Linked DNA regions of Homo sapiens: regions 1, 2, 3, 4 and 6 are each linked to region 5. The links are contacts of gene promoters, found by promoter capture Hi-C in blood cells and fetal thymus (Javierre and others, 2016). All regions are on one chromosome and are shown on one strand. The core of a region is centred on a gene start or on the middle of the fragment in contact, and the rest is flanking DNA. Distances in the headings are between cores, read along the strand shown.

What was found. The method cuts DNA at HindIII sites, captures the fragments that hold promoters and counts their contacts. A CHiCAGO score of 5 or more calls a contact.
Region 1: a fragment that was not itself captured here is called in contact with the fragment with the promoter of APBB1IP in region 5 in 2 of 17 cell types (naive CD4 T cells and naive CD8 T cells); the score reaches 6.0 in naive CD4 T cells.
Region 2: a fragment that was not itself captured here is called in contact with the fragment with the promoter of APBB1IP in region 5 in 4 of 17 cell types (neutrophils, activated CD4 T cells, total CD4 T cells and 1 more); the score reaches 9.4 in neutrophils.
Region 3: a contact is called between a fragment that was not itself captured here and the fragment with the promoter of APBB1IP in region 5, in 1 of 17 cell types (neutrophils). The highest score is 5.5, in neutrophils.
Region 4: a contact is called between a fragment that was not itself captured here and the fragment with the promoter of APBB1IP in region 5, in 1 of 17 cell types (activated CD4 T cells). The highest score is 6.1, in activated CD4 T cells.
Region 6: the fragment with the promoter of ANKRD26 here is called in contact with the fragment with the promoter of APBB1IP in region 5 in 1 of 17 cell types (neutrophils); the score reaches 5.4 in neutrophils.

What each region holds. Positions count from the first base shown.
Region 1 is chr10:27,223,426-27,226,655 of GRCh38, forward strand. ACBD5 (acyl-CoA binding domain containing 5) reads right to left here. Exons shown (of 13, transcript NM_145698.5): 5 at 1-27. Among named protein-coding and RNA genes, the nearest start is that of ACBD5, 16 kb to the right of the region's middle. The HindIII fragment of the contact is 2,587 bases long and covers 545-3,131 here.
Region 2 is chr10:27,144,161-27,147,255 of GRCh38, forward strand. It overlaps YME1L1 (YME1 like 1 ATPase), which reads right to left. Exons shown (of 19, transcript NM_014263.4): 3 at 1,268-1,430. Among named protein-coding and RNA genes, the nearest start is that of YME1L1, 8.7 kb to the right of the region's middle. The HindIII fragment of the contact is 3,780 bases long and covers 1-3,095 here.
Region 3 is chr10:27,123,548-27,126,427 of GRCh38, forward strand. YME1L1 (YME1 like 1 ATPase) reads right to left here. Exons shown (of 19, transcript NM_014263.4): 10 at 1-152. Among named protein-coding and RNA genes, the nearest start is that of ANKRD26, 24 kb to the left of the region's middle. The HindIII fragment of the contact is 4,704 bases long and covers 1-2,880 here.
Region 4 is chr10:27,259,477-27,262,409 of GRCh38, forward strand. It overlaps the pseudogene ODAD2P1. Among named protein-coding and RNA genes, the nearest start is that of ACBD5, 20 kb to the left of the region's middle. The HindIII fragment of the contact is 1,626 bases long and covers 442-2,067 here.
Region 5 is chr10:26,436,942-26,439,816 of GRCh38, forward strand. It overlaps APBB1IP (amyloid beta precursor protein binding family B member 1 interacting protein), which reads left to right and starts at 1,400. Exons shown (of 15, transcript NM_019043.4): 1 at 1,400-1,514; 2 at 1,711-1,912. RefSeq lists enhancers at 717-1,246, 964-1,093, 1,654-1,733. The HindIII fragment of the contact is 5,297 bases long and covers 1-2,875 here.
Region 6 is chr10:27,098,628-27,101,992 of GRCh38, forward strand. It overlaps ANKRD26 (ankyrin repeat domain containing 26), which reads right to left and starts at 1,867. Exons shown (of 34, transcript NM_014915.3): 1 at 1,458-1,867. The coding sequence starts at 1,699. RefSeq lists an enhancer at 1,304-1,363 and a silencer at 1,534-1,713. The HindIII fragment of the contact is 14,700 bases long and covers 1-3,365 here.

The DNA.
Region 1 (3,230 bases), core at 588-3,087, 790 kb after region 5:
CTCAGTCATTGGCATAGTTTCAATAATCTGTAATCAAAAGAAACAAATATTGTGAAATCACAAACTCTTAATTTGATCTCCACTAATATCAAATAATCTCCTATTTCCAATTTGTCAATAATTTTAATATTTGACATTCATAATAGACTCTCTGAAGGATCTACATTAATTACATACTTAATGTATACACACTGTGGCCGGGCTAAGTGGTGGCTCATGCCTGTAATCCCAGCACTTTGGGAGGCCAAGGCAGGAGGATGGCTTGAGCCCAGAAGTTTGAGACCAGCCTTGGCAACACAGTGAGACCCTGTCTCTTAAAAATTTTTTAAAAAACATTAACCAGGCACGGTGGTGTGTGTCTGTGGTCCCAGCTACTCCAGAGGCTGAGGTGGGAGGATTACATGAGCCTGGGAGGTCGAGGCTACAGTGAGCCATTATGGCACCACTGCACTCCAGGCTTGGTGACAGAGTGAGATGCCATCTCCAAAAATTAAAAAATAAAATAAAAGGAATCCTTTAAAAAAAGTATATACACTCCTAGAAAAGCTTCAAGTATATTAAAGATCTAAAAGTGTTCTCATTTTGAAGATTATTTTACATGAGCTTCATGTAAAATTTTATACAATAACTTATAAATTGTGTATTACAGCTAGGGGGCGCAGTGCAATGGCTCACACCTGTAATCCCAGCACTTTGGCAGGCCAAAGCAGGAGGAGGATGGCTTGAGCCCAGGAGTTCGAGACTTGCCTGGGCAACATAGTAAGGGCCCATTTCTACAAAAAAAAAAAAAAAAATTGTCTAATTATCCAGACATGGCGGTGCACGCCTGTAGTCCCAGCTACTCGGGAGGCTGAGGTGGAAGGATCTCTTGAGCCCAGGAAATTGAGGCTGCAGTGAGCCATGATCACACCACACTGCACTCCAGCCTAGGCAACAGAGCGAGATCTTGTCTCCAAAAAAATAAAGGAAACAAACAAAAAAACTAGGGGCTTTCATTAAACGAAATAGAAAACTGAAGTTAGAGTAAAATTATGATGTCTGTTCTTTAACAATAAGGTAGCGTAGTATTTCTAACAGGGCACAAAAGTAAAGTAGGAAATTGTAATCACTTTCAGACACCTTCATAAATATGGGCCAATTTAGAATCACCAAATTTAAAGAACAAGGTAAATTAACTGAAAAGGTATTTAACTAAACAGCCATCAATTGGTGACTGATCAAAGAAATTAAAGTATTTCTAGATTTGAAATATTTTGCATATATTAAAAAGAATAAAGTCAGCTCTGTGTGTGCCAATCACAGGATGTTTAATATGATAACAGGGGCCGGGCGTGGTGGCTCACGCCTGTAATCCCAGCACTTTGGGAGGCTGAGGCAGGAGGATCACCTGAGGTCAGGAGTTTGAGACCAGCCTGTCCAACATGGTGAAACCCCATCTCTACTAAAAATACAAATATTAGCCGGGCTTGGTGGCATGCACCTGTGATCCCAGCTACTTGGGAGGCTGAGGCGAGAGAATTGCTTGAACCCAGGAGGCGGAGGTTGCAGTGAGCCAACATCACACCACTGCATTCCAGCCTGGGCAACAAAGTGATACTCTGTTTCCAAAAAAAAAGATACCAGAACTGGCTCCCTCTCTCTCGCTCTCTTTCTTTTTTTTTTTTTTTGGAGACAGCGTCTCGCTCCATCATCACCCAGGCTGTAGTGCAGCGGCACGATCTCGGCTCACTGCAACTTCCACCTTCCTGGTTTGAGCAGTTCTCACCTTCAAGCAATTTCAGACACCTTCATAAGTGATTTGCCCACCTCGGCCTCCCAAAGTGCTGGGGTTATAGGTGTTAGCCACTGCGCCTGGCCAAAACCCTAAAATTCTTGTTCAAACAACATGCTTTTATTCCTAAACCAAATACAAGATGGATCATTGGTGGTCTATGGTAGTCAGCAACTCTGATAGGATTACATGCTCATCAACACCATTCCCCACTGTGTTATATGTGTAGGAGGAGGTTGTTGAGAGAGATTACACAGAATGAACTATGTTAACAATAACTGGTTCTAGTGATTATAATTTAATTTTACAGCTTGTAGTAAATTATCTGATTGCTGCTCCTCTGAATGTACTGTGAAAGGAATGCTTTAATCACAAAATTTCTTTTTGCTAAAGGAAACATTTGTTATGAGGCTAGGGCCATGTGGAGGAATGTTTTATTATTTATTATAAATATCTGAGTTGTAATATATTTGAATTATAATAATAATTCTGAGATAAATCAGATTCAAACCAAGAGAAATGTTTAATGTGACCAAGTCACAACTAATAAATGGCAGAGAAATAATTCAAACATAAATCAGCACCCTTTACACTATCCCACACTGCCGTAATATAAAGACTTCAGTTAGCAGAATCTAGTAAGCCAATTGCATACCACATCCTGACCACCAAGCAACACCTCTACTTCTCAAGGCTTATTAAAAGATCTCTTTCTTAACTTTGTCCTTATTTTTAAGGCTACTAAATTCGGCATTTGGGTTTCTCATGCCCCATAGGGTAAAAGAGTAAACTGTGGACTGAAGTCTCAGAACGAAATAAAAGGAGTATCCATTGGCAGTAAGCAAATATTAACTGAGTATTCATTCTCTCAACAAACCAGAATTTCAGTAGTTAATATAGTGAAGACACAGTAGCCAAAACAAGACACATCCAAAATTGATGAAGTTACTCTCTTTGTTTTTTCTTTTTCTTTTAGATTCAGAGGGTACATGTGCAGGTTTGTTACAAGGGTATACTGTGTGATGCTGAAGTTTGGGCTTCTATTGATCCAGTCACCCATACAGTAAACACAGTACCCAATAGGAAGTTTTTCAGCCCTTTCCTCCACCCTTTTGAAGAGGTTATTCTCTGAGGAAGCAACTTTAAACATACACAAACCAAGAATGATCCCCAGCCATTTGCAAAATTATCTCCCTGACACCAATATTGAAATACAAGAAATGGTGCACATGTACACACATGAGATACAGACTACACACACACACACACACACACACACACACACACACACAAGCAGACACAGGCAAATCTCAGTCTAGGTAACTACTACCTACCCTCAGAGAAGATGTTATCTAAACCAAGCTTGTCCAATCTGCAGTCCTCGGGCAGCATGTGGCCCAAGACGGCTTTAAATACCCAACACAAATTCGTAAACTTTCTTTTTTTTTTTTAATTTTTT
Region 2 (3,095 bases), core at 340-2,839, 710 kb after region 5:
TGTAAATATGCAGACTAGAAGAGCAGTAGGAATAATCATAATAACATAGTAACAAAAAGAATTTTATTCTATTGAACACTTGGTATGGGCCAAATATTTTATAAGAAGGCAACTTTAGGCAGAGGCAAACTTTTAGTCTAAGCCCCCAAGCTCAAAACCATTTCATTTTTTCCTCACACTTACGGTTTTTTATGCCCTTACACTGAAATAAAGGCAAAGGAAGGGTCAAGAATTAATGAATTAAGTTTATGCAAAGGACAGCTTCAAATCAAACCTTCATTATAAACTAGTCAAACCTGCTATTTTGTTCCTGGATTTTTATGGCCTGTTTAAGTGCCATCCAAAGAAAAACTCATAAAGTTGACATCCCTTTTCAGACTAGTATGAACCCACTTATTATACTACCATACTGTTATGAGATTCAAGTAAAAAAAAATGTAGACATTCCACAAAAGGGATAACAACTGTTTTTTTAATCAATGTATTCTCAAAGATTAAGTATGTTTCCTGGAATTAAATGTGTGTCACCTAAAATTAAAACAAACAACGCCCCCCCATTCTGCTAAATGCAATGTGGTATGCTGGATCAGATCCTGGAAAAGAAAAAGGACACTTGCAGAGAACTAGTGATTTGGTGAAAACAAATTTTGTTGAAATTCAAATAGTCTGTAGTTTAGTTAAAAATAAGGTACCAATGTTAGGCCTGCACGGTGGCTCACGCCTATAATCCCAGCACTTTGGGAGGCTGAGGAGGGTGGATCACGAGGTCAGGAGATCAAGATCATCCTGGCTAACACGGTGAAACCCCATCTCTACTAAAAATACAAAAAATTAGCCGGGCGTGGTGGCGGGCGCCTGTAGTCCCAGCTACTTGGGAGGCCGAGGCAAGAGAATGGTGTGAACCCGGGAGGCGGAGCTTGCAGTGAGCGGAGATTGTGCCACTGCACTCCAGCCTGGCTGACAGAAGGAGACTCCGTCTCAAAAAAAAAATTATTGTACCAATGTTAATTTCCTAGTTTTAACAAATGTAACATGATTATGTAAGATGCCAAAATTAGTGGAAGCAAAATTCTGTACTATCTTTGCAACTTTCCTGTAAATCTGGTACTATTTCAATATGAAAAATTGCAAAAAAAAAAACAAAAAAAAAACACTTCAGGAAAGAACCCAGCCCACAATAAACGCTACTGTGAAAGCTAAGAAATGGTATCTATAATTATTAATAGTGCTAAAATATTTAATTGGAACAAAAAACACATTAACATACCATATTTATTTTCAAAGAAGGATTGTGCAGAGACATGGGATGTATGCCAATGGGAAGAAATGTTTTTGCCTTTACAAAATCCAGGAAGTAGATTTTCTACCAGCTGATCAATCTGTCCAATTTTTAGTTCAGATAATCCAAGGTCCCTTAAGTTAAGTGAAGGCTGTAAAAGATTGGGTCAACCAGGTATGCATTAATATTATCAAGATATTTAACCTAAGGAGTACATATTATCAGTTAAAACAATCAGATTTTAAAAGTCTAACAAATATATTTCCTTTTTTTAATATTTAAAAATAAATTGATGCAAATATTTTCACAGTTCGTTTTACTGAGATCAGTCATATGAGGTTTGACATAGGTTAAAAAATTATATTCCTAATGGTATCCTTAAATAAAGAGATGACATTTCAGCATGAATGAGAAAAACTTTTTTTTTTTTTAAATCAAACCCAAACCACTACTGTCCTAAGCATTATGGTTCACAGAATCAAGTGAAATGTATGGCATTTTTTCCTTCTCTCCATACAAGGGTACTCTGATCAAGAGCTAGTCTATCAACTATTGATCAAGCATTTATAATGACAAGAGTGTAAGAGTAACTAACTGCAGGGTTACAAAGTATGTTATATAAGGTCCAGGGGATTTTCCCCAACAGTGTAGAACTGATTGGAGGATAATAGTAAGGTTCTTGAATTGGGGAAATTCCATTCAAATGATAATCCTCACCAGTCCATGGAGCTTTTAAGCCCCTAAGCAGCCATAAACAAAAGCCCACTTGACAAAGAAATGGTATGCTTGGTTACCATAGGACATCTCACTCCTCTGGCCTCATTGCTTAGATCCTTCCTTGAACTCAGAGGTTCTAAAGTTACCCATATCTTCTAATAAAGAAGAAAATTAAAGTCAAAACTGTGTGAAAATCAGGCAAAAAAGTCTAAAAATCACAAAAATGTGTGTATACCCACTTTTAAACAACAGGATAGGGATTATTTTCTTGTCCACATGAGCTGAAAGAGAGGCACTTAAAGGCAAGTAACAATTACATGTTACTCAAACCCAAAACAGCTAAGGTGGGAAGATCGTTTGAGGCCAGGAGTTTGAGACCAGCCTGAGCAACATGGTAAGACATCATCTTGATGAAAAATTTAAAAATTAGCTGGGCATGGTGGTATGCACCCGCAGCACCAGCTACTCAGGAGAAATGTTTGAGCCCAGGAGCTGGAGGTTGCAGTGAGCTATGACAGCATCACTGCACTTCAGCCTGGGCTACAAAGGGGAGACCCTGTCTCTAAAAATAAAGTTTTTTTTAAAAGAGGCATGGACACGGATTATATAGCTCTGGACTGATGTCTGGGAATACGGTACTTTTTAAATTAGCTATAACTCATATTCTTAGAATTCATTTTCTCAATACTAACATAACTATAAAATACACCTTATTTCCTAATAGTAAGGATCAAAGGCAGAGATCATGCCTTACTCATCTACGTATCCTAGCATACAACATGACAGCACATAGTAAAAGACAGTTAAAGGCATGATGAAATAAAATACTTAAAAGTACTTTTTAAGCTATTAAAAATGATCAAGGCGGCTTAGGGACGGGGGCAAACAAAAAGCCATCCAAGGGTCTGGAATATCTCAAAAAATTCAAGGAAAGAAAAAATTAAAGAGATAGGTTATGGCCAAACTGTGAAGAGCCATGTTTGAATTTAATTCTCTAAGTAACATGATTAGTTCTGTCTTATAGAAGAAAATGGAGAACTAAGGAAGATAGACTGGCCTAGCATGGTGGCTCGAGCCTGTAATCCCAACACTTTTGAGA
Region 3 (2,880 bases), core at 224-2,723, 690 kb after region 5:
AAAAAGATTTCTGATACGGCTGGCTCCCACACCCACAAACATCTCATCAAATTCGGATCCAGAAGCATAATAAAAAGGAACATCAGCTTCTCCCGCCACAGCTCGGGCAAGAAGTGTCTTTCCAGTCCCTGGGGGTCCAACTAAAAGAATTCCTAAAAGAAAATGAAAACGAGAATGATTCAAAGTATTTTTAAAAAATCCCTCGATATGAACCTATAAAATAAATAATTATTCATTTATATAATTTTCAGGCTGAGGTCACACCAATAACCAATATTTTGAAACACAGCAAACCGTACTTGTCTCTGCTAATGGTTCACTTCAGAATCTTGTCCAAAATTAATGTTCCTGTATTATATAAATATTGTTTCCATATCAACAAGAGACATGACAGGGAGAATCTTGAGGCAAAAAAATATAAACCCATTTATCACTAAATAAGATAAAATTCATGTAAAAATAGATTAAAAGACTAAACAACCAAATGTAATTAGTGAATCCTGATTTGATGCTTTTTCATAAAGAACAAAAAATTCTAGAGACATCTGGTGAAAACATTTAAACAAGACTGAGAGTACATGATATTAAGGAAATAGGCATAATTTCCTTTGGTGGGATAAGGTTATTATGTTTATTTAGGACACTGTCCTTATTCTTAGGTGATGTACAAGAAAGTCTTTAGATGTCAAGTAGTTGACGTTTATAGTTTTCTTTCAAATGTTCAGGGGGAAAAATACACACATAACACAGAAAGCAAATATGACAGAATGTTAACAATTGTTGAGTCTAAGTGGATAGGATATGGATGTTAATTGTACTGTTCTTTCAAGGTTTTCCATGTTTGCAAATTTTCATAACACCAAAGATTTTCACGTTAGAAAAACAGAATTACCTGATTTATATGTTTTTATAAATATACATATTACATTTAAAAAGCAACAAAACTTCTTTACATACATGTTTGCTGCATTTTAACATAAAAAAAATTTTAAAGAAAGCTCAAGCTCAAAAATAGCTTTAAGACTATCCTAGTATTGTCATGTTTTAGTTATACTTAACTGGTTTAAATCATATTAATTTCTGTGGATTACATCTTGGTATCTGAAGATTTTTCTACAAATTTATACTACTCAAATTTTCTACAAATTTAAAATACTCCTTGTGATTAGAAAGAGGAAGAGTGTAACTATTAATACTTCTATGGTTTTAAACATTCACTCTGTGATGTTTAAATAAATGTAAAGGTGGTATGTGGAATGTCTCCTGATATGGGCTTTTCCAGTGTTTTCTCATGATTGTATTGAGATTGTGCTCTTTTTTAATTCCTTTTTGCGTGGACACCACATAAGCCATCACTTGGGTCCTTTCTAGAGCATCAGGAAGTACATGATGTTGATAAGGCTTTTGCCAGTGATATTAGCTAAAGTTATCATTATTAAGCACTGATTTAATAAATGTACCCTAAATTAGCAAAGGTTACTGCAAATAATTTCATACACTGCTGTATTTTCAGTGGAGATAGTTGGCAGCATAAAAACAAGCATTAAAAAGGAGTGTCATCCTTTAACTCAGCAATTCCATTTCTAGAAATTTATTCTAAAGAAATAATTAAGCATGCAGGCAAAGCCTTGAATTAAGATGAAACACAGCACTATTCTTAATAGCAAAAAAACTGGAAACCATATAAAAATTCAATATAAATGGTTAAATTGTGATACAACCATAAATTAGAAGGATACTGTGAAGTCATTAAAAGTCATGTTAACCATGAGAAAACATCAGACAAAGCTAAACTGAGAACATTCTATAAATAATTAGGCAAGTACTCTTTGCAACTGTAAAAATCATGAAAGATCCTCTTCTCTCCACTCCCTCACAAAAGGCTAAGGAATTGTTTCATTGTTTCATTTGAAAAAAAAAAAAAAAAAAACAATAAAAGCCTAAATGTTACCTGTGATCCTGGATTAGGTCCTGAACTGGGGAAGTGGGTAGGGATCAGGGCAACACTACAAAGGATACTATTGGAGCAAATGCTGAAATTTGAATATAGACTCTAAATTTGATAATGGTTTTGTATGTATGTTAAATGTCCTATTTTTTTTTTTTTTTTGAGACAGAATCTTGCTTTGTCACCCAGACTGGAGTGCAGTGGGAACAATCTCGGCTCACTGCAACCTCTGCCTCCTAGGTTCAAACGATTCTCCTGCCTCAGCCTCCTGAGTAGCTGGGATTACAGGCGCCTGCCACCAAGCCCAGCTAATTTCTTTTTTTAGTAGAGACAGGGTTTCACCATGTTGGCCAGGCTGGTTGGAACTCCAATGGCCCCTGGTTCAAGACCAGACTGGTCTCGAACTCCTGATCTCAAGTAATCCACCCGCCTCCACCTCCTAAACTGCTGGGATTAAAGGCGTGAGCCACCACACCCAGTAATGTCCTAATTTTAATATTATTCTGGAGTTACATAGAAGAATATCCTTATTCTTAGGAAATACACACTTGGGGTGATTGTTTACAATTTACTCTCAAATAGTTAAAAATTTATTTATTTACAAATAATTTTTATATTTATATATACATAAAGAGACAAAGTGAATGATTTTTAAAATGGAGTTAGGTTGAGTGCGCTGGCTCATGCCTGCAGTCCTAGTACTTTAGGAGGCCAAAGTGAGTGGATCGCTTGAGCCCAGGAGTTCAAGAGCAGCCTGGGCAACATGGAGTAACCTCATCTCTACAAAAAATACAAAAATTAGCCGGCATGGTGGTGTGTACCTGTGGTCTCAGCTACTTGGGAGGGCCGCCTGAACTCGGGAGGTTGTGGCTACAGCGAGCCATGATTGCATCACTGCACTCAAGCCTGGGTCTAAAAAGGAAACTAAATAT
Region 4 (2,933 bases), core at 5-2,504, 820 kb after region 5:
CCATTCTTGGAAACTTAGGGTCTCAGCTCTGACGCCCCCTTCTTGTAACGAGTCTGGTGGGGGCCGTCATCCCACACTAGGCTTAGCTTTGATTTTACTTAGGGCCCTGTTCATGCCAGTTCTAAAAGTTCGATTTTCTGTAGGTCTTACTGAGTAACTTCTGCATTCTCAGAAAGCCGTGTATGCGCGGACTCCCGGTGGATGTTACCAATCACATTCATAGATCTCAGAGCTGATGGCTGCCTTTCCATAGCCCCCTAAAGAATTCGGTCGTGCTTCTGCATAAGTGTTAACGACATGATTCCCGAATGGGTTTTATTTCACTAATGATGCTGGAAGCTTAAAATTGACCATTAGAAAGAAAAACAATCTATGGTATCTATTGGATAGAGAGAAAAATGAGTGTTAACTGATTCCCAGTTTATGTAAACACGTAATCAAAGCTTTTTCCTTTTTAATCTTTAAACTTATTTTCTTTACTTCAAAGGTATGTGCTATTTACATGGATTCATTTTAACTATGGTTCTTAAGCCAAAAGAGCTAATGGATTGGCAATGGGTAGGAACTGGGGAGCAACTGCTTTTGATTTTAAAATCTTAGTTTTGAGTTATACCGACCATTTTGGAACACCATTTATTTATTTTCTAATAACATTGAACTTGCCTTCTGGATTGTCATAGGCCACCCTGAGGGTTTTTTTTTTTTTTTTTTCTTTTTGAGATGGAGTCCACTCTGTCGCATAGGCTGGCGTGCAGTGGCGCGATCTCGGCTAACTGCAACCTCCACCTCCCTGGGTTCAAATGACTCTCCTGTCTCAGCCTCCTCAGTAGCTGGGATTACAGGCGCGCGCCACCAAGCTGGCTAATTTTTGTATTTTTAGTAGAGACGGGCTTTTCACCATGTTGGTCAGGCTGGTCTTGAACTACTGACCTCGTGATCCACCCGCCTTGGCCTCCCAAAGTGCTGGGATTACAGGCGTGAGCCACCGCGCCCGGCCTCACCCTGAGGTTTTCTTAAGCTGACCAACCTTCTTTAATAAAACTGTGCATTGCTACCGTTCACTGGACTTGGAAATACAATTTGAGTAGATTCAAATGCTACATTTCTGTCAAAATTTATCTTGACGGAAATAAGAACGATTTTGCATTTCTTAGTTCTGTGCTAAGGGTCCTTCAAGAAGTTACTATATGGTATATTGACTAGTATAGCGTTAATAATCTGTTTAATTTCACATTTTTTCTTTAAAAATGTGCAAGAAGCAATCTTTATAAGATTACCAAAACAAATGTTATGCTTAAGATTAAAGACGAGCTGTTCACCTGTCTTTCTGTGTAAGATAAAGCTATTTGCAGTTATTTTACACTATTTTACACTTATTTGTGCTTATTTTATGCAACGTTGGGAAACGCAAGTCTCACACATACACATCAGAACATGTTTATGTGTTTAAAGCATTTCTCATCAGTTAGCAATAGAAACAAAATGCTGGAATACTAAAACAAACGCCCAGAACAAATTCGTGCACTAACTTCTACGCTTTATTTCATGAACACTTTGGTATATATGTCTGGATCAGTTGTTCTCGACCCTATCTGATCCAGTACTCGGTTTTTATAACAAAATTTTGTAATGCTGCTTTACGATCCTGAAATCAAGATCATAGATTATAATCGTACATATTTAATAAAGTTTTCAATATCAATAGCGTGCTAACTATAAAGAAAATAATTGTAATAAAATATCAGCATGTAAACGCTTGAGTTACCACTACGCTAGAGTATATAAGGAAGTAGTCAGATGTCCAGCCTTACACAGAATTACTGTAAACACAGCAGCCCCAAATGCAGACTGGTAACAGACGTGCCATTGCAACTTAAATTTCTCAAATAACCTTGCTATCAATGATGTCTTGGTAAAATTCCATGTAAAACAAAGTATGTACTACCTTCCTTTCATTTATGAAAGCTACAATTCTGGAAAATTCAGGGTATAATAAAACTGTGACAAAATACTTTGCGATTTTTGCAAAGTGTAGAAAAACTCTAGGCTCAGGTAGTGCTTATCTGAAGCTTTTCACTTATCAGATACCTGGAGGTTACAGCAGAATTCTTCCTTCTGAGGTACTGTCCTGCACAGAAGGGTATTTTACATCCTTGGTCCTCATCACTAAAGGCTGATAATGCCCCCTTTCCTATCGTGTTGGTAACTAGACATCTCTATAATATTTCTATACTCTATCAGCAGAAAGTACTGCCCTGTTGTGATCCAATGATCTCCTGTGATTGAATTTAATAGATAGTTCTAAGATTTAATACAGTGCAGAATGTAAAATCTCCAAGTCTAATCTTTGTACTTTGAGCCTTTGTAAAAATATAATGATCGGAAAAAACCTAATTTTATTCTATTTTTAATTGTATAACCATTCATCTAACATTATGGAAGAAATATTTTATCAACAAGTGTTATTACAATGACAAAGGAAACAAATATAGCTTATCTGCAAAAAAAGCCTTAAATGTTCATTATAAATTAAAGTCAGAAGTTGCGTTCTAACTTGGCTCTTATTTAATGTTACAGATACTGTTATTTTTTAAAAGATCTTCTTTTACAGACTAATTTCTATTTAGCCAATGTGAAGTTTGTTTCACTTGAATTTGTTTTAAATTTTACTGCTAGACTCTTCCGGTAACTAATTTAGATAAAAAGGCAGAAAGACTCTCACTTATTCCTACCTCTCTCACATTAACTCTTAAGAAGGTTGCAAATTACAGTAAAATGTCATTCTGGGCAGGATATATGGGCAGAGAATATAGTATTTGGATTGTCCAGATAGTCTGGTAATAGGATCAATGTTTCCTACATCAATTTTCAGAAAAAAATTATATTTCACAATACTGTTCTTATTCTATTTCTTTTTTTTTTTTTTATAACTC
Region 5 (2,875 bases), core at 150-2,649:
TTAATATATATAAAATAATATGAGTTAATCGACTATGTTATCAGTAAGGCTGATAACAACTGCTTGATCATCACCTGATGGTCACCTGACATTCCTGGTAGGGGGTGGGAGGAGCCCTCTCCTGCCCTGCTCATGCCTGACTAGCTACCTACTGTAACAGAACAATGCCAGATTTCAGGAGTACCAAACTGCTGCACAATTGAAAATCCATGTATGTCTTTTGACTCCCCCAAAACTTAACCACGAATAGCCTACTGTTGACCAGAAGCCTTACTGATAATATTAAACAGTCAATTAACACATATTATGTTATATGTATTTAGATAAATACTGTATTTTTACAATAAAGAAAGCTAGAGAAAAGAAACTGTTATTAAGAAAATCATGAGGAGAAAATATATTTTCTATTTATTTATCGTTTATTTACCCTAATTAATACAGCAACCCCATCCCCATGCCCATCACTCTCTATCCCTCACCTTTTAACTTCCTTCAAAACTAGTTACATTCCTTGACATGTTAAATATTAATTTGTTTATTGTCTGCTTTCTACCAACTAGAATGCACCATGCATGAGAGCAGAAATTGTTTCCTCTAACTATTTTCATTGTTCTTAGAAGTGTTGGTGCTTACGAATAGTTTCTCATTAAATAAATGACAGAACTATTTGAAATTGCCTAATTAACACATGCACCTAATTTCTGTCTTTATGTCTTCACCACCTTCCCTGACATATAAGCCTTTGAAGACACAGCTGTAGAGGAGAAGGGGAGGGTTATTCAACCGCATTTACAAATCATAACTGATTTTAACTTCTGTATTTTCAGACCTCCCCAGCGACTTTCTCTCAGGAAACTCCACTCCCAACTGACAGGTGCTATTTCCAGCCAGTCCTATGCTGTTGCAAATAGTGAGTCCATGAATGCCCTCTGCCGTGTGCATTACTTATTTTCATCAGCAGATCTTCGTAACACACTCCTGGAAGTGGGATGACGGGGTCAAAAGGCGAATCCATACATAAGTTAAATAGATATTGCTCAATTCTCTTCCACGGGGTTCAGACCATTTTGGATTTCTACGAGCAATGAAGACAGTGCTATTCCTCTACACCCTGGCCGGCCAACTGAGCGTGGTTAAACGTGGGGAGGGAGGAGGGTGAGGTTACCAACCTGATGGTTGAGAAAGGGCCTCCGCCCAGCGCGCCCTTCCTCCACCCCCACCCGAGAGACAGCTGAACTCCGGCCGGGACGCGCGTGTTGCCAGTCCAGCCCTGCACCGCGTCCCCTGAGGGCGGGCTGCAGGCGGCCGGGAAGCCTTGCACAACCGGCCCAAAAGAGGAAGCCCAGAAAGTGCTGAAGTAAACACTTTGGGAGACCGTTGCAACATAAAGCGGCCTCTCAGTCTTTGGTGGAACCATCACTAGGCCCCAATCCCTTAGTCCCTCTTGCGTCGAGGCTGCAAAATGGTTCCATTCGCCAGGAGACGCTCCTGAGAGAAGGGCGCGCGCGGCACAGGTAGGGGGAGGCGCAACGTTTCCCAGAATTAAAATAAAATAAAATAAAATAAAATAAAAATCCCTTCAAGGTGGTTGTGTAGTAGGGGTGGGATGGGGGAGAGAAAATCAGGCGCAGACTCGATGAGTTGGAGAAAGCAGCCCCTAACTCGGAGTCCTTTACGCATATGTTTGTCTGTCCCACTGTCTCTAACCAGGGGCCTTCCTTGCACCTCGGAGCAAAGCAGCTCGGATAGCGCCACACGTCTGCGCGCTGCGTGGGAAGGGCAGGGCTGACAGCACTTCCTCCCCGGGGCAGCGACCTGGAGCCCGGGTGCGGCAGTCTGCACCGCGCGTCGCTTTCCCGGCCGGAGTCTCGCCGCCTTCCCGCGCCCCGCAGCGCCCCGCAGAGCAGTCGAGGTAAGTGGCGCTCCCAGTCCCGGGAGCCCTGGGAGCGCCAGCACGGGCCCCTCGGGGCTGTCAGGAACCCGTTTGTCAAGCCCGTCGGGTCCGACGCCGGGGGCAGCTCCAGGATCTGGCCTCGTGAACGCGTGCCCCCAGGCGTGGCCCTCGAGCGCAGCGGGTCCCCAGGGTCCCCTCCGCTGATCTCCACTCTGGACCCGGCTCGCGAGGGTGGGGGTGTGAGGGTTTGGGGTTCGGGTTTGCTTTTTCCCGAGCTATTGCAACAGATTTGACAGATTTCCTGCCCAGGAAATTGCTGCAAGGTCAAACGGGGAACTGCTATGAACCCTTGCACGTCCAGCAGGTCAGCAGGTCAGCAGGTCAGCAGGTCCGGGAGCCCCAGTCTCCCGGAACCTGGAGGGATTCTTGAGGGGCCAAGATTAGATGTGGATTAAATGCCAGCCGTGTGAGAATTTGAGTGTGGCTCGCAGTCTGATGCATCTTAGAGTGTTTCCTTCCTCTAAAACTTTTGGACAACTCTTTCCTCTTTTTAAAAATAACTTTTTCCCCCGAATATTCTCATTTTCATTTTAAAATACCATAAAGATAGATTTGGACACCAGGCACAAGTTTCATAATTTGGCTTGAAATGAATATCCAGAGGGCCTTTTACAGAATGGAGGAAACTAACTAGGGTGTCCTAATGTCTCCAAGAACCTCTGCGCAGGTGTTCCACCAAAGACCTAGCCCGGTGTACCTCTTACTTTCCTGCTAAGGTATTTCTTAGTTCATACCCCTGTGGAACGTGAAATGTGTTTCCTAGACACTCAGGGCATAGCGGTTCAAAAGAACTTTTAATGTGATCCTTGACGAGACGGAGTACTAGAGGAAAGTAACAAAAGAAAAGGGCCCGTGAGTTTATTATGCCCCCAGATGTTTTTTTCTGGTGGCATAACGTGGTTTAAACAAAGGTGCCGGTAC
Region 6 (3,365 bases), core at 617-3,116, 660 kb after region 5:
AAGCTCCGCCTCCCGGGTTCACGCCATTCTCCTGCCTCAGCCTCCGGAGTAGCTGGGACTACAGGCGCCCGCCACCATGCCCGGCTGATTTTTTTGTATTTTTAGTAGAAACGGGGTTTCACTGTGTTAGCCAGGATGGTCTCGATCTCCTGACCTCGTGATCCGCCCGCCTCGGCCTCCCGAAGTGCTGGGATTACAGGCGTGAGACACCGCGCCTGGCCAAATTTTACCACGTTTTGTACATATTTTCAGCTAACACAAGACCACAGTCTGTATGTATAATCAAACTTTTTTTCTCACTTGAGATACCAAAGTATATCCTCACATGCCAATACACTTCTGTATCTATTGCCACTTTCTTTTCTTTCTTTCTTTTTTTTGAGACAGAGTTTTGCTCTTGTTGCCCAGGCTGGAGTGCAATGGCACGATCTTGGCTCACTGCAACCTCTGCCTCCCAGGTTCAAGCGATTCTCCTGCCTCAGTCTTCGGAGTAGCTGAGATTACAGGCTCCCACCACCATGCCTAGCTAATTTTTGTATTTTTAGTAGAGACGGGGTTTCACCATGTTGGCCAAGCTGGTCTCGAACTTCTGACCTCAGGATATCCGCTTGCCTTGGTCTCCTAAAATGCTGGGTTTACAGGCGCGAGCCACCACGCCTGGCCTCTACTGCCACTTTCAATGGTCACATATTATCATGCACTGACATTTATTCACAAAATCCATTCTATGGGTTCTCCTTAATACACTGCTTAAGCAATGCTGAGAAAAACAAATTACTTGTATATCTATTTCCTAAAGGCATTTTATTTCTTTTTCTTTTTGAAAGATAGGGTCTTGCTCTGTTGTCACTGACATACCTCACTGCAGCCTAGAACTCCTGGGCTCAAGTGATGCTCCTGCCTCAGCCTTCCAAGTAGCTGAGACTATTAGAGTTGGGGGGGGGGGTCTCGCTATAATGCCCAGGCTGGCCTTGAACTCCTGGCCTCAAGCAATCCTCCCGCCTCAGCCTCCCGAAGTGCTGTGATTACAGGCGCGAGCCACCGCGCCTGACGAATAACAGATTTTATAGAAATAATTTTTAACCCAGAAGTTGCTATATTATGGAAACTGCTTATCTCATTATGCACCTTTCCATAAGTGTATGACATTGTATCTTAAATGTGTACATTAAAAATAAAACGCTGTACGTGCTTTTGTTCGTTAATTCACTTTAAAATTGTCACTTAAGTGCTCTCTAAGGGATTTCGGGGGGATCGGAAACCAGCTAGAGTTCTGTTTTTGTTTTTCTGCTCAGAAAGGCGGCCTGGGCGCTGGAGCCCTGCAAGGTGTCACCGTCCCAGGGGCTACGGAGCCCGCGGGAGGCTGATCCAGGCCCTGGGTGGCTCCCACAAAAGGGGCCCCTCTTCCTGCCCGCCTACTCCAGTGGCACTCAGTCCGGGCTTGCGACGCCTATTACCTGTTCATCTTGTCTCTATCGTTCAAGCCATTCTTCCTGAGCAAAAGGATCTGCTGCACTTTCGCCACATTACCCGCGCTGGCAGCTTTGTGGATCTTGCCGAGATCTCGGTCTCGGACGTGGTAGCCGGGCTGCGAGTAGGCGCCCTCCCCCGGCTCGCCCCCGCCTCCCGCGCTGCTCCTCTGCCGCCGCGCGAAGGAGCCCAAGGGCGACTCGCCCTTCTTACTAAAAATCTTCTTCATGGCCCAGGCGACCGGGCTTCAGAGACACCTCATGTCTCTCTCGGCTCTTAACGGCCTCCGGAGCCCAACATAACAAGTCAGCCCCGGCTGGCCGCAGCCTCCCAAAGGAAACTCCGCGGTTTCCAATCTCTCCCTCCGGGTTACCAAGCAAGCGATCCCGCTAGACACAAGTGCGCATGCGCACCTCAGATGGCAAGGTCCACGCGCGTGCGCACGAAGGCCCAGTGGTCAAGTGTGCTCCATGCGCATGTGCAAGGCCCAGACCTCGCAAATCTCGGCGACTGGGACGAGCCCTGCGTTCCTGTCAAACAAATGTCGGTGGGAGTCTGGCTGAGTGTTCAGGACGTTTGCGAAAAGAAGCCTCGCGCCTGTGGGGAAGCAGCCTTTACGCATGACTGGGACTGGAGTAGCGTGGAGTTTTAAGATGCTGAAAGCCTCTTCTCCGAGAAAACTCCCCTAAGAAACTCTCTGAATCTCCCTATCTCTCAGTTTATTCCCCTTCCATGTCCCTTTGGGTGCCATCTGGTCTCCATGAGAACTTAACAGATGCAACAACAGAGGGCACAGGATTTCGGAGATCGTGGCATATGTGTCAAGTGCAGAGGGCACAGGATTTCGGAGATCGTGGCAATATGTGTCAAGTGCAAACTTACGAGGAGAAACCAATGCACATTCTCCAGAAGAAATGAGAACGCATTTCTGCATGCCTCCTTCCCCCACCCCTCTGCCTTTGGCCCAGCCTTATGTTTTATTTTTTGCTTTTGATTTTCCAAGGTTACATCTCTTTCTTCTTTTTTTTTTTTTTTTCCCCAACAGAGTCTCGCTTTGTCGCCCAGACTGTAGTGCAGTGGTGCAATCACGGCTCACTGCAGTCTCCACCTCCTGGGCTCAACGATACTCCCACCTCAGCCTCCTGAGTGAGTAGCTGAGACTACAGACGCAAGCCACCACGCCCGGCTATTTTTGCATTTTTTGTAGAGACAGGGTCTCACCATGTTGCCCAGGCTGGTCTCCGACTCCAGGGCTCAAATGATGCTCCCATCTCAGCCTCCCAAAGTGCTGGGATTACAGGTGTGAACCACCACGCCCAGCCTAGATTGAATAATTTGACAACAAATTGGAATTAGCAACGCAGACGTCAAGTGGAGTCTCAGCAGAAATTGCTGCTGGAATGCACCTCCATAGCTCTGGACAGCTCTAGGGTCCCTTGTGGAGGAGGTGGCTGGCCCCAGAACAGGCGTCTTTATTGCCAAGTGAGAAATGAGCAAAAACAAAACAACACTTCTCAGGCCTCTCCAGCTTAGCTAGATCAAATGGTTTTGATGTGGGAGAGTGGTTTCCACTATCGTCACCAAGAATTTTCCTCCTACACTACCCCAGCTAGAAAGTTATGTTGTCTCCTCAACACTCCCCAAGGTGATCTATGAAGCTAGTCAAGTCCCAGCACTTTAGGAGGCCGAGGTGGGTGGATTACCTGAGGTCAGGAGTTCGAGACCAGGCCAACGTGGTGAAACCCCGTCTCTACTAAAAATACAAAAATTAGCTGGGTGTGGTGGTGCATGCCTGTAGTCCCAGCTACTCGGGAGGCTGAGGCAGGAGAAACACTTGAACCTGGGAGGCAGAGGTTCACACCACTGCCTCTGGAGTGGAGACTCTTGGATGGAGA